Regions from separate parts of the Homo sapiens genome. Here region 2 is linked to region 1. The links are contacts of gene promoters, found by promoter capture Hi-C in human tissues and cell types (Jung and others, 2019). All regions are on one chromosome and are shown on one strand. The core of a region is centred on a gene start or on the middle of the fragment in contact, and the rest is flanking DNA. Distances in the headings are between cores, read along the strand shown.

Region 1 (7,449 bases), core at 3,321-5,820:
AATCAGTGAATGAAATGTAGAAGAGACGTGCAGAAGGGCAGACAGTGGCCGAATCCTGGAGTCTTTGTATGCCAGCCCAAATAGTCTGGAATGTATTCAGTGTCTATTCAGAAACCACAGAAAATGTCTGAGCTAGAGAGTGGAGAGATCAGAAGTGAGGAAGGGAGACCCACTACTGAGTCTAGGATAAGACCTAGGTAGGAAGTGATACAGGCTCAAACAATTCTTGGGAGTTATAGACCTAAATTTTATAGTAGAGTTTCTTTAGTTTCTTTTAAAATTAAGTTTTAGACAGTAGGCCTGAACTCACGTAGTGTTTTGGTTTTAGTTTTCTTACTCACAGTAGAAAAGTTAGAAAATATGGAGAAACAAGACAACAATACTCAGAAATCCTATCATGCAGAGAAGATCACCATTAGTTACCATTTTGGTGTAAATCTTTTCACACATTTTCCTATGGCATATATATGCATTTAAAATGTGTAATGAATATATGAAATTTTATTTATATATTTTCTTGCTATATAATATAATCATATATATGTTTGCTATATGGGCTTTTGTGTTAGATAAAAAATACCAAATGTCTTAATATTTTATCTTGAGGACTTGGCCCAGAACAAGTATTCAATATATATTTATCAAATGATTAAATGAATGGCAATTATCCATTGTCATTTACCTTTATGTAGAGATTTTAATACTTTTGCTCATTTATAAAGCAAATAATTAAAGCTTACAGCTCTGTTTTTATATCTAATGCATTTCTTTTGTTTTAGATTATTCTAGAAGAAATATAAATTTAAAATAAACATGAAATCTCTGGGATTTCTTATTTATGCAAATAATACCCAGGCATCCTCTTAAACAGTGATTTATAAATATGTCAATGATTTATCTAGAATTAGTAATCTTTGGAACATCTGAACATTTTAATTATTTGATCAAAAGTATTATTCACTCAGAAAACAATTTCTTCCCTTCCCAGATTCTAAGGAGGAGAAAAGCAAAATAATGTTGGGAATGTTAATTCATGATAATCTGATCTGTGTTTTATTCATATAAAGTATCTCTTGGTTAGTACCCCATCGTGTATTCAGTGCCTGTACTTGGTACTCAGAATACTCAGGGTACTTATTGCCTAACCCAGTGCCTGGCACAAGGTGACACAATAAGTATTTTTCAAATGAATAAATAGGAATACAGTGAACATAGACATAGTAATATCTCTTCTAATGAAAGGATATTTTCATTCATTTTTCAAGTGATGTGACTATATAGTAAGTGTTAGGCACTTCTTATTTATCAATAATACTGGGTCCAGGTTGACATAGGAAAAATCCACACTTAATACAATACCTTATATTTAATGAATGTATTTTTTTTTTCCTTTAGAGTGATGACTTCACTCTGGGGAAGAGTGAGGCCACATCCCTGGGTTTTATTTATACTCCCTTTCCTTTGCCCAGAGGAAAGGAATTGTTAACACACAAATACAAGAGTACTGACAGCTCATGTCATGCTCAACTTTATATGTCTTAGAGTGTCCTGAACAGTAAGAATTCAAAAATGAGATAAATCAATGTCTTTTCCTAGGTCAAAGGCTGGTGTAAGAACTACACTTTTCCAGTAGATGGCAGTATTTTCATTCACCAGCTTAAGTTTTGTTTTTTTTTTTTGTTGTTTTGTTTTTAGTTTTACTATACCTTTAGTAAGCTGCAGGTGAAAATACATGTTAATGAAATTTCTGGTTTTTTCACTTTCTTTTAAAAAAAATTCACTCTTGGGAGCTTCCAAAAGCCCTAGAACGACATCTGCTTTGCCTACAATTTATAGCAAGGTATATACCGAAGTAGACCATACTCTCTAATCCTCCCTATTTCCTGATATAAGTTATTACTAAGAATTAGCTAATTCATAGTAATCTCTTGGAGAAAATCTATCAAGCCTTTCTGCCTCTACAGTAACAAAACAAAACAAAAATAAAACACTGACTTCAGGTTTCCTGTTTTCTAAATAGGGCAAAATATTCATTAAATTAAGCGGATACCTCACCTGTCTGGTTAATAATTAACTTTTAAAAAATCCACATTTTTGCAGCTCGACCTCGACAAGACCTTTCAAAAACCCTAACAGATGGTTAGGTGCTATCACGTGTCTGAAACGAACTATACGCTGCAGAAACTAAATTTGAGGAGGAAGGGAAGAAAGCATTTAAATTCCAGGGACATATGCCGGAGTTGGAAAACAAAAGTGTTAATTAGTGGAATAATATCTCAGATACTTTCTCTTCAAAACAGTGGATTAGCAGGAGTAGGAAAGGCTGGGTCTGAAACACGCGTTTCACTGCCTTCTCAGAATTACTCCCGTATAAACAAAGCCTCAAGTTGCTGGAGGGAGCAGTGTTTCCTCTGAAATCACGGAGATAGCCCAGATTTAGTCATCCAGTCCTTCTTGCGAATATTCAACCCATATCAGGAGGTACAGAGGTTTTTAGGGTTTAGGGTATTTTTAACCAAACCTTTACTTTCAAGACTAGCAGAGGCACTTTCGCAGCCCACCCTGCGCCACTCAGCCTCTGCGCTGCGCCCTCCTCGCCTCTCGCGCGGCAAGGACCTGAAGCCCCGGTGTGGCCGCGGCCCTGCGCACTCTCCAGATCCAGGTGAAGGTTGCGAGGCCTGGCGACGCCTAAGCGCTGACAGGTGGCCTCGCCCCGCCTCTTTGTCGCCCAGGGCGGCGCTCGCCTCCGCTCCAGGCCAGAAGCCGCAGCCCGCGCGCCAGGCACAGCTCCCCCGACCGGTCTCAGGAGTTCGGCCACCTCCCCGGGGAAGAGTGGGACTCAGCCAGGCGCCGGGCCGGCCTCTAGGAGCCTGCGCCAGAGCAAAGGGCATCCGGCACCCGACCCGGGCCAGGCCCTTGGACTAGGGCGGCACGGAACCTAGCGCCTGGGCAGGTCCAACCCTGCGCACTGCCCCTCAGCCTCGTGAACCCTTCGCCTCCACGACCCCCGGAACCCATCCCAGCAAGTGCGGCAGTGACCTCGGGTCTCACCGCCCGGGGGCCAAACACCTCGGCCACCCCGGGGCCCCAGAAGGGCCGAGGGTCAGCCGAGCGGACGAACCACATTCCCAAGGACAAGCAGCGGGTGGCAGCACCGCCCCCGCCCGAGCGCCCTCGGGTCCCTTTCTGCCGGGGCTCCAGTGGCTTGAGTGTCCCGACCCCTCCAGAACACGCAGGCGGCCGCAGGAAGAAATTCACCCGGACCCGTCCTCTTCCCCGAACTTCTTCGTTCCTCTCGGAGGTTCCTTCTACCCGACCCCTCTGCGCCACCAGCTCCTCCCACTCCGCTCCCCTCCCCTTTTTCTGGTCCCCACTTAGGAATCCGTCCCCCCGCCCTGCGCCGGGTCCGGGGTTCCTCCCCCCGGCTCCCCCCGCGTGCCGTCGCCGCCGCCCGGGTTCCTCTCCCCCCGCTCGGGCGCTCCCTGCCAAGCCCATGATGTAATGGTGTATGTTAATCAGTAGCATGTGGGGAGCTCCGGCTCGGGCGGCTCAGTCCTCCGCGAGCCGACACTGGAGGCAGCAGCAGCGGCGGCTGCAGCGGCCCCGACTCGAAGCACCGCACTCTCCCCGCGCCGCCCGCCCCGACGGCATGGCCCGCGGCCGGCGCTCCGGGCGCCCCCAACCCCGCTGAGAGCCGCCGCGGCCCCGGACCCGCGCAAGGGCCCCCGAGCCGCCGGGATGAGCCGCGCCGAGGTGAGCGCTCCCTCCCTACGGCCCTCGGCGGGGGACCCGCGGGTCACTGGGGGTCCCCTCCCCGGGGGCTTCCCCCTCCGCCCGAGAAGTTCTGGGAGCCGGAAGCAGCGTGTTGTTGGAAGCTAGCGGCTCCTTGAAGGCTGAGTCGCTGGGTTCTCCTCCCCGCCGGCGGCGGCCACGAGAACCGGGATGGGACTGGGGGAACCCCCGCAGCCGAACTTTCTTTGCTGTCGTTGGGGGGCGTGTGCCTGCGGCGCCGATCCGCATTCCCCGCGGGGCCGCCCCGCTGGCCGAAGGGAGCAGCGCTGCGGACCCCGGCCGTCCCCTCGCGGGGCGTGTGCCCAGCGCTGTGCCGCCCTCGGCCTGCGACGCGCGGGCGAGGCTCCGGGCCGGACAGACCAGCCCGTAGGCGGCGGCGGCAGGATGCCTGCCACACACGCGCGCACACACACACGCACACGCGCGCGCACAGTGACCGCTCCGGCCGGAGCAGGCCCAGGGAGACCTCCCGGGTGGGCTGGTGCGGCGCGGCGCGGGGGAGCCGGGGCTCTGGGTTGCGCCGCCGCCCGCTGGGCGCGGAGCTTTGGGTGGAGAGAGTTTATTTTTGTCTCGAGCTGCTGCCGCGGCTGCTCACGGCCTAAATCCAGAGGGGCGCCTGGCGGTGGAGATGCTGGCTGTTGCTGTAGATGGAGCTGCAGCCGCTCGGCTGCTTCTCTGGGAGGAGGAGGAGGAGTAAGAGGAGGAGGAAGGAACTCGGGCTGCCGCTGCCTCCGCCTCTGCTTTGCATTAGCTCCCACCCCCACCCCCGCGCCCCTTCGCAGCCGCATTGCAAGTTTTCTGCGCGGGGAAGATCTGTTGCTGGTGCTGGCGTTCTTAAGCACGGCGCCCGAGGCCACCCCAGGCGGGCCGTGAGGGGAGCACCAGCCGTTGGCAGCGGCAGCAACAGGAAGCCGCGGGGTCTCCTCCCGCACCTGGGAAGCAGGCTTCTCGCTGTTACCCGGTGGGGAATAGCCCATCTCCCACATCGGGTGCGGAGGGGGCGGAGGGGGCGGCTGGATTTCGGCGAACCCAACCTTCCGCGGGACGCCCCCTCCCCTGGCCCCAGCACCCTCTGATGCCCTCGTCCCCCCAGGGCGCGCTCCTCCGCTAGCCGAGGTCTCACTGCAGCTCTTTCTCTCCTTCCAGTGGTGATCGCCGCTCGGGAATGCGGGCGTGAAGGGTCCGAGTTGCCGCCCAGCGGGGAGGAGACCCCAGGACGCCGGAAATCACCATCCCAAAGCTGCAAGAAGGGGGGAGAAAGCATTCTTCATTCAGTTGTGTGCCTTGTGGGGGATTTTTAAAAAGTCGTTTTTTTTTTTAAAGAAACATTTCCGTGCTACTGTCTGTCATCGTCTCTGGGGAAATCAGCCAGAACCACCGGAACGTAACTGAAACCAGACAAGAGAGGCAGGAGCCCAGGCAGTACCTGCAGCGTCCGGGCACCAGAGCCACCTTGGAACAGGAACGCGTCTCCGGCCGCGGGGCTGCGGCTCCGCCAAACTTTGGGGCGGGCGGGGCGGGCTGGGGCGCCCAGGGGGCTCTGTAGACCGAGGGCGGCCCCCTAACCATGATGTTTCGCGACCAGGTCGGGGTGCTGGCGGGCTGGTTTAAGGGCTGGAACGAGTGCGAGCAGACTGTTGCGCTGCTGTCGCTGCTCAAGCGCGTGAGCCAGACCCAGGCCCGCTTCCTCCAGCTCTGCCTGGAGCACTCGCTGGCCGACTGCGCCGAGCTGCACGTCCTCGAACGCGAGGCCAACAGCCCCGGTAAGTGTGCGGCGGCCGCCGCCGCCGTCCCGCCTGCCCAACCCCCGCTCCTCCCTCCGCTTCTCTGCCTCGGGCCAGGCCGAGGCCAGTCCCTGCCAGCCGCGCCGGGACCTGGACGGCGTGGCCCCGAGGCCCTCGGAATCCACCCCCTCCGGGTGTCCCCCCACTACCGCCCCCCACCTACTTACCTCCGCCGGCCGCTTTGGGATTTTGCCCACTGTGAACTCCGTCAGCCCTTTCCGTGTGGTAGCTACGGTAGCATGAATGATTGATTTTTCTCTCATGCAGTTTCCTGGGAAATAAGTAAGTCAGGTCACGTAGAGTCTGGATTTTCTGGGTGTGTGTGTTTTTTCCTTCCTCCTCCTTCTTTTGGGCAACGTGGCTCGCTGGATTTCAGCAACACATGATAGATGCCCGGGACTGCCCTTCAGAAGCCAAGCTTGGATAAGGCTGTGTGAGGAGTACATGAAAATCCAATTTTATTATTCATTTTTCCCCACAGATATTCTGGTTTTAGAGCTTCGTCTTCAGAATAATATGCAGGTGACGCTAGAGACTAGTAAAATGACATTTGCAGCATATATATATATATATATATATATATATATATATATATATATATATATATAATGCGGTTAAGCTTACTGCTCGTGACATTATCCATATTGATACGGATCTTGTAGAAAAAAAGGGTCTTGGAGAAAGGACAGGCATGAAGTGGGTTACTTAATGCTTTTCGTTAGGAAACTTTACTGAATAGAACAGAATCGTTTCATATTACCCTGCTAGTATTTACAGACACCTCAACTAGTATGGAAAGTGAATATAGTCGAAAGGTCCAGCAGTTTCCTATTTGCTAGCGTGGGTGGTGACAGACTGAAATTATATCCTGGAGGGTAGGAGGAGGCTGGGGGATGGGGGGAAAGTCTGATGGTTGTGATTTTGGATAGGGGGAAATTCTTTAGTTCATGCTGCTGCAGGAGGGTGAACAGAGTCCCCAGTGTTTATGCAGAGAAAAGAATGCAGGGTCCTCTTCCAGCTGTTCCATGTTGGAGCTGCGAGCCTGCAAAGCTCAGCAGAGGTCTGGGCTGCCATTTGATGACAAGGTCCAGTCCAGGGCAGTGGGGCCTGGGAGACACTAAAGTGAGTGTGCCTTCAGAGCAGCAAGAAGCGAGCCGGCCTACTCATTCCTCCTCCCTAGTATGGTGTGCACGATGGTGAAAACACTAGAATGGGATGCTTCCATATATAGAATCATAGGGTGGAAGTGACCGCTGGAAATCTTCACAGTTCTTTTCCTGACCAGACAGGACTGCACCCGAAAGATCCTGCATGGCCAAGTATGGAGGGCCACATTGAGGGAGATTCCATTGAGCCCGAGCCTCCCAGCTCACACCAGGACTCACTGGGGTGGCGATGACAGGGCCCCCTTTGGTTGAGCTCCACGTTTATAAATAGCTGGAGGGCCAGCCTCCTTCACTGGGGTGTGGAAGCATAATTGGGTAACTGATGATCCACCCTCTTTGCTTCCTTCCTTAATTTCAGCGGGAAGCCTGGTTTACCTGCTCGGTTTTACTTTCTCAGGTTTGACAAACAAGGTTATATAAACTTTTGCATTTTATAGATTGCAGAGGATTTACGCAGAGTCATTTAGGTTGAATGCTTGATTTCAGTGCTGGTAGGGACTGTTCAAACTCATCTTTAGGTTATTCAAATGTTGGAGCAGCACTTTTTCCCTTTGAGTAATGGAGATGACTTTTCCCAATAGAGCAGCCACCAGGTTAGTAAGTAAAACAGTTAAATGTTAAAATAAGGTGGCCTAATTTTAAAAATCTCATAATTTAAAAAATTGAACTGTGAATTTTTTGAAGTCACTTGGCATTTTTTTTCCCTT
Region 2 (7,449 bases), core at 2,580-5,079, 240 kb after region 1:
GTTATCAAGGGTAATCTCCTTAATGCCAAATGGTTGTGGATGTTAATCAGATCTACAAAATACCTTTACAGCAACACCAATTAGTGTGTGATTAAATAACGGTATTATAGCCTAGCCAAGTTGACGCATGTAACTAACCATCACAAGTATCATTGCTCATCCTGCTAGTTATTGCCAAGTCATCTTCTATAGATTTATACTTCCAGCAGCAATGGATGAGAGTGCTTTATTTCCTATACTCTCAGCAATTCATAAACCAAACTTTTGTATATTCTCCTATCTAATATGTGAAAAAAATGCTATCAGCACCCTTTTTATTTATTTCTCGAGTGAGACTGAGTTTGAGCATTTTTATATGCTTAATAGTCTTTTATATTTTCCTTTGAACTGGGTGTTCATATATTTGCCCATTTTATCATTGAGTTGTGGGTCCTTTTCTTATTTTTGTAGCCGCTCTTTGTATATTGTAGAAATTGGCCTTTGGTCTGTGATATAAGTTACAAATATTTTTCCCAGTTGGTCTTTTGTCATAAAGAACTTATTTTTATTTTTATGTGGTTGAATTTCTTCATCTTTTATGGCTTCTGGATTTCAAATCATATTTTAAAAGGCCTTTTCCACTTTGAGATAGCTATATTTTCCACTAGTACTTTCATGGATTCATTTTATATTTATATATATTTGAACCATTTTTAGTATAAAATACGAGGTTTGGAACCAATTGTATTTCTATGCAAAGGTGGGTACCCAGTTGTGTCTACACTATTAATATATTTTTCCTCCACTGATCTGATATGCCACCCCTTTAACAAAGCAACTTCCTCTATGTATTTAGATCTCTCTCTGCACTTCCTATTTTTCTTTTCATCAATACATTTGTCTATTCATGTACTAGCACTCCCACTATTTTAATTATTAATTTTAAATTTTGGGATAATGTCTAACAGGGAAATTTATATTTTGGAAAAGTCACTCCGACTGCATTTTGGGAAATGGATTAGAGGAGAGCGCAAGTGCAGGAGTGAGGATGCCCCAGGGGACAGATGATCCAGACAGTTCACAAGCTCAAGGGTATGGCAGCAGGGACAGAGAGAACTGGACAGATCTGTGAGATTCATAAGATGTAGCCTCTCCTATTCAACATAGTATTGGAGGTTCTGGCCAGGACAATCAGGAAAGAGAAACAAATAAAGGGCATTTAAATAGGAAGAGAGGAAATCAAACTATCCCTGTTTGTAGATGATATGATCCTGTATCTACAAAACCTCATTGTCTCAGCCCAAAAGCTTCTTAAGCTGATAAGCAACTTTAGCAAAGTCTTGGGATATAAAAGTCAATGTGCAAAAACCACTAGCATTCCTATGTACCAACAACAGTCAAGATGAGAGCCAAATCACAGATGAACTCCCATTCACAACTGCCAGAAAAAGAACACCTAGGAATACAGATAACTAGGGCGGTGAAAGATCTCTACAAGGAGAACTATAAACCACTGCTCAAAGAAATCAGAGATGACACAAACAAAAGCATTCCATACTCATAGATAGGAAGAATCAATACTGGTAAAATGGCCATACTGCCCAAAGCAATTTATAGATTCAATGTTATTCCCATTAAACTACCATTGACGTTCTTCACAGAACTATAGAAAACTATTTTAAAACATATGGAACCAAAATAGCCAAGACAATCCTAAGCAAAAGAACAAAGCTGAAGACATCACATTACCCAACTTCAAACTATACTACAGGGATACAGTAACCAAAACAGCATGGTACTGGTACAAGAACTGACACATAGACCAATGGAACAGAACAGAGAACCCAGAAATAAGACCACACACCTACAACAAGCAATGGAGAAAGGATTCCCTATTCAATAAATGGTGCTAGGATAACTGGCTAGCCATATGCAGATTGAAACTGGACGCTTTCCTTATACCACATATAAAATTAACTCTGGATGGATAAAAGACTTAAATATAAAACCCAAAACTATAAAAACCCTGGAAGACAACATAGGCAATGCCATTCAGGACATAGGCACAGGCAAAGATTTCATGGTGAAGATGCCAAAAGCAACTGCAACAAAAGCAAAAATTGCCAAATGGGATCTAATTAAAGAACTTCTGCACAGCAAAAGAAACTATCAGAGTAAACAGACAACCTACAGAATGGGAGAAAATTTCTGCAAATTCTGCATCTGACAAAGGTCTAACATCCAGCATCTGTAAGGAACTTAAACAAATTTACAAGAAAAAAAAAACATTAAAAAGTGGGCAAAGGACATGAACAGACACTTCTCAAAAGCAGACATACTATGTGACCAACAAACATATGAAAAAAAGCTCAACATCACGGATCATTACAGAAATGCCAATCAAAACCACAATGAGATACCGTCTCACACCAGTCAGAATGGTTATTATCAAAAAGTCAAAAAAAAACAAATGCTGGTGAGGTTGTGGAGAAAAAGGAGTGCTTATACACTGTTAATGGAGTGTAAATTAGTTCAACCATTGTGGAACACAGTGTGGCAATTCCTCAAAGACCTAAAGAAGAAATACCATTCAACCCAGCAATCCCATTACTGGGTATATCCTCAAAGAAATATAAATTGTTCTATCATAAAGACACATTCACGTGAAAGTTCATTGCAACACTATTCACAATAGTAAAGACATGGAATCAACCTAAATGCCCATTAATGATAGACTGGAAAAAGAAAAAATAGTACATATACACCATGGAATACTATGCAGCCATAAAAAAGAACAAGATCATGTCTTTTGCAGGAACATGGAGCTGGAGGATATTAACCTTAGCAAACTAACACAGGAACAGAAAACCAAATACCACATGTTCTCACTTATAAGTGGAAGCTAAATCATGAGAACACATGGACACATAGAAGGGAACAACACACACTGGGGCCTATCGGAGGGTGGAGGGTAGGAGGAGGGAGAGGATCGGGAAAAATAACTAATGGGTACTTGGCTTAATAACTTGATAATGAAATAATCTGTTCAACAAACCCCCATGACACACATTTACCTATGTAACAAACCTGCACCATGTACCCCTAAACTTAAAAGTTAAAAAATACAACGGACTTTGGGGACTCAGGGGAAAGGGTGGGAGGGAGGTGAGGGATAAAAGACTGCAAGTTAAATTCAGTGTGCACTGCTCGGATGATGGGTGCACCAAAATCTCACAAATCACCACTAAAGAACTTACTCATGTAACCAAACACCATCTGTTCCCCAAAAACCCAGGAAATAAAACATTTTAAAAATAAGAAAGCCAGATATCAACGAGAGAAAAAAAAGACGTAGCCTCATTGTGCTTGATGATGGATCAGACATGGGCTGTAGAGGAGAAACTAATGAGTCCAGGATGCCTCCCAAAGCGTCTTGCTTGGCCAGCTGAGGTGCTGGGGAAGAATTGGGCTAGGGGTAGGGACATGAAATTTGTTATGTTACATAACCCACCTCCTCATCCAGACAAAATACTGTTTTGCTAAGCTGATACATTTGTTGTTAGATTATCCCCCACTTTGCAGATGGAAAAACTGAGACTCAGAGATGTTAAGCAACTTGTCCAACATCACAGAATTGTTATGGAATGAGGCTCCACGATAAGACTCAAATCCAGGTCTGTCTACCCTAAATATTGCTAGGAGATGGCAATGGCTGGTTGTCTTAGGCTCTGGAGACCCCATATGAGCACACACAGTAAGGAGACTGTGATGAACCTCCAGGCCTTCCCTTTCCAACATCTGTTGCAGCCTGAGACACGAGGTTACTGGTAGGCAGCAGAATTCTGCAAAATGACCATCCTATTTGTTTAAATATAGCCCCTAATTGAAAGAGAAGAGCCGACATGGCTGTGGTTCTCAATCTGACTCCATATGGGAGTCACCTGGGGAGCTTTACCAACTACTGATGCCTGGAGTCCATCCTGAGAGACTCTGACTTAGTTGTTCTAGGGCATGGCCTGGGCGTGAGGTTATTAAGCTCCCAGGTGATTCTAATGGGCAGCCAAATGGGAAAACTGCACATCAAATGAAACTGCTTCTCCTAGCTTACTGGTCTATGAGGTTAAGTGCATCTGCAGCCTTGGTAGATGAGGGTAAAAGGCAGCTGCTTCCACGGACTCATTACAGAACTAAGAGCAAGCACCTGATCCACCCTGTTCCTTGGGTGCCCTACCTATGGGAATCATCTAAGCCAGGCAGCATTAGCAGTGGGGTTTCAGCACACTCCCAGTCACTTCTCAAATTTCTTCCCCATTGGCTTCAATGGTGCTTGCAATGCCTACCGCAAAGACTCAATTTTGTAAGCTATGTGTACTTTAATTAGGTTGATGAATTGTTCCCTGGGATACTGTCATGCCAGACACCTATCACCTCCAATCGGGATGGCACCAGGCTCGAGAGGCTAAAGAAGAGACCCAGAGCCAGCAAACGAGACACGGGGCTTATTGAGGGGAACTTACGGAGCAGCCCAGTGGTGGGGACTGGACAGGAGAACCACCACTTATAAGAGCATGCAGTTTATACAGCGTTCTCACTTAACACCCTCCCCCTAGCAACCATCACCTGGCAACCTTCGTTTAACCCAAAACAAAGGGCCTCAATACTCTGTATGACCCACATTTTATGGGACAGGGCAGGATGGGGGCTCAGATATGCCTCACAGATAAGGAATGAGTCCCCAGGTTGGCCACGCTGGAACTCTAAACACACATTCAGGTGCGTCTGCCATACAGGGTGATTCTCAGAAAATGCTTAAGTTATCGCTGTCAGGTGTGTCTGCCGTGCACAGGTGCATCTACCATACAGTTGCATAGCATTAACAGCTGAGTGATCTATTAACCAGAATTCATCAGCCTGATTATCCAGGTATCTGCCAGTATAGTTTCGGGTTGTCTGTTAATGCAGATTAGGTTACACTCCATTAACAGATACTCCCCAAAACCTCAATGCCTTAAAACCACAAAGACTGGCCTGCATGTCCATCACAGGTCATCAGGGACATCTGCTCTATATGGCTTCCTCTGGAATCCAGCTTCTGGCACAGTTGCCACCTACTGGAGTACTGATATTTGCCACAGCAGAGGGAAAAAAAGGACATGCCTTCCACTAGAAGTGAAATGTGTCACTTCCGCTCACACTTCGTCAGCCGAAGCCAGTCACATGGCCACATCTAACTTCAGTGGAGCTGGGAAGCACAATCCTACCCTGCCATGAAGGACTCACAGACAGGGCTGGACCACAGCACTAATATCTCCCACCCGGTCACCGCATGCTGCCTCCCAGCAGAGCACAAACGAATGTTCAAGACGGCTAAGGTCTTGGGGTCCCCATCCGGCCAATGTCCCTCCCCACTTTTGAGGAATGTGAGCCTGTTACAAAGACAAACCCTGGTCACTTTACCTGGGTTTGCTGCTTCTCTTCAGGACCTCAAAGTCTGGAGGAGCTTAAAGTGGCGTCATCAGACGAGGTCATGTCCTGGGTGGCTGGGTGACCTCCTGTTACGCTCCCAGTGTGCTGCAGGATCACTAGGGTCCCAGGGCCAGGCCCAGCCGCGCATTCATCAAACTCTCCTTCTCTGTTAGCTCCCACCCGACTCTGAGCGGGCCAATTTCTTTCATCATCCACCTCCAGCTGGGCTGCAACCTGTGGATCACTCCTGGTTCAAAGACTCAGAAGCAGGGAAATGTAATGCTCTGAAAGGTGCTTTCACGCACAGCGGCTCTCGCCTTCAGGGGATGTTTGAGGCTGCTCTGACTCAGTCTCCCATTCAAAGGCTGGGTTCAGTGGAGAGCCCGCAGGAAGCTAACAAACCGGACTGTCTGAGGGACTGACTCAAAAAAATAAAAAGAAATAGATGATAGAGTAGCAGAAGTGCCTGCAGCGGCCTCCCGCCCGCGATGTGCCAGGAGTGAGGCAGCTTCTGCTCCACCCTCCCTGCTGCCAGCGTAGCCGAATGGGCTGAGGACGCCCCTCTCCTGGCCCTGCCTCCGCGGTCTCACTGCACCTGTATGGAAAGGTGTTGGGCCCTGGCTCCTCAACAGAAAAGACCCTCCCCCACATCCTGCTTTGCCACTCCTGCAGCCTTCGTTTTTAATATTTATACTGAACGGAGCATTCCTTGCCCAGGAGGCTGGGGAAGAACCTCAAAACTGGAAGCAAGGGCTCGTTTTGAAATCTGTCTTCCTTCACGTTTAAAACAGGCAGCTCTCCCATCTGGGTATCTTGAAAATGTGTTGCAAGCCTGAATGCTCCGGCTTCAAATCCCTGGGGCTCTGAAGCCCAAGCCTGCCTTTCCTCCACTCACTTCCCAGCTCTGCCACTTACCAGCTCAGCTATGTGTCCTTGGGTGCATTACTTTGCCTCTCCGTGCCTCCATTTCTCCATCTGTGCAATAGGGGTGCTACCCAGTGGCGCGTTGTGGAGGGTTAAGTGAGTTGATGTATGCACAGCACCTGGAACAGAGCCTGATACATAGGCTGTGCTCTTGAGTGTTAGCCGCGAGTATTGTCATGGTGATTACAATCCTCAAGCACTGTCCATTCCCTACCTCGTCAGCCGATGACAGGAGTTATTAGCTACAAAGTCTTCACTCAGGCCATTCCCAGCACTCTCCCCAGCCTGGAAGCACCCACAAAATCAGGTATCCTGTAGACAGACTGTTCTCCATTCCCCTTGGGACCCACAGCCCTTGCTGTAGCACCCAGTATGAAGGCTGGATCCAAGACTCGGGAGCCATGAGCAACACAGGGGCTGCTGAGAGAAGATGTCCTCTAGCCACACCACACACCCTGATATGTACACGTGCACACCACACACTCATCCCCAGGGTGGTTATGCCAGTTGTGCAGCACTTTTGGTGACTACAAATCCCTCTAGCCCTAAGAGGAACCAATTAAGCAATGTATTTAGTGGCCTTAGCAAGGAGGGAAAGAGTCACCTTAAACATTTTTCCCCGGCGAATCTGACACATTTTGGCAGCCCAGGAGGTTCCAGAAGGGAAAGGGGAAGCCATGCGCAGCTGGCGCCCTCTGGTGGTCAGTGTCTTCCCACTCAGCGCTTGTTCTGGGGAGGCGGCACCAGAACAGCCCTATTCAAATCAACATAAGTCCCTATGCCCCGGGTCACATGCGGTGGAAGGAACCAGGATGAGAAGGATGCCATCCTGGCCCTCGAGGTGCTCATAGTCTCTCAAATCACTGTGTCTTCTAGCCTGGGATTGTTCTCCCGCCCTGGTATCATGACGTTAGTAAGTCGCGCTCATGGAGCTCCGACTGCTGAATCCCCGCTAAGTCCACGTCCTGCGCAAGGCACTTAGTATCCACTAGCTGTCACCTTTACAGCAACACTGTGCCTTCATCTTATCTGGTTTTATAGATGAGGCTCCAGCAACTAGGTGACTTGCCCAAAGTCGCA

What was found. The method cuts DNA at HindIII sites, captures the fragments that hold promoters and counts their contacts. A contact is called where the count stands out against the background at its distance.
Region 2: a fragment that was not itself captured here is called in contact with the fragment with the promoter of SAMD4A in region 1 in 8 of the 25 tissues and cell types used here (adrenal gland, liver, lymphoblastoid cells and 5 more).

What each region holds. Positions count from the first base shown.
Region 1 is chr14:54,562,558-54,570,006 of GRCh38, forward strand. It overlaps SAMD4A (sterile alpha motif domain containing 4A), which reads left to right and starts at 4,571. Exons shown (of 13, transcript NM_015589.6): 1 at 4,571-4,781; 2 at 4,939-5,555. The coding sequence starts at 5,360. RefSeq lists silencers at 3,353-3,482, 4,043-4,092, 4,213-4,402, 5,243-5,302, 5,543-5,602 and 2 more. The HindIII fragment of the contact is 16,931 bases long and covers 1-7,449 here.
Region 2 is chr14:54,798,923-54,806,371 of GRCh38, forward strand. No RefSeq gene overlaps it. Among named protein-coding and RNA genes, the nearest start is that of MIR4308, 76 kb to the right of the region's middle. RefSeq lists an enhancer at 5,798-6,599. The HindIII fragment of the contact is 8,937 bases long and covers 1-7,449 here.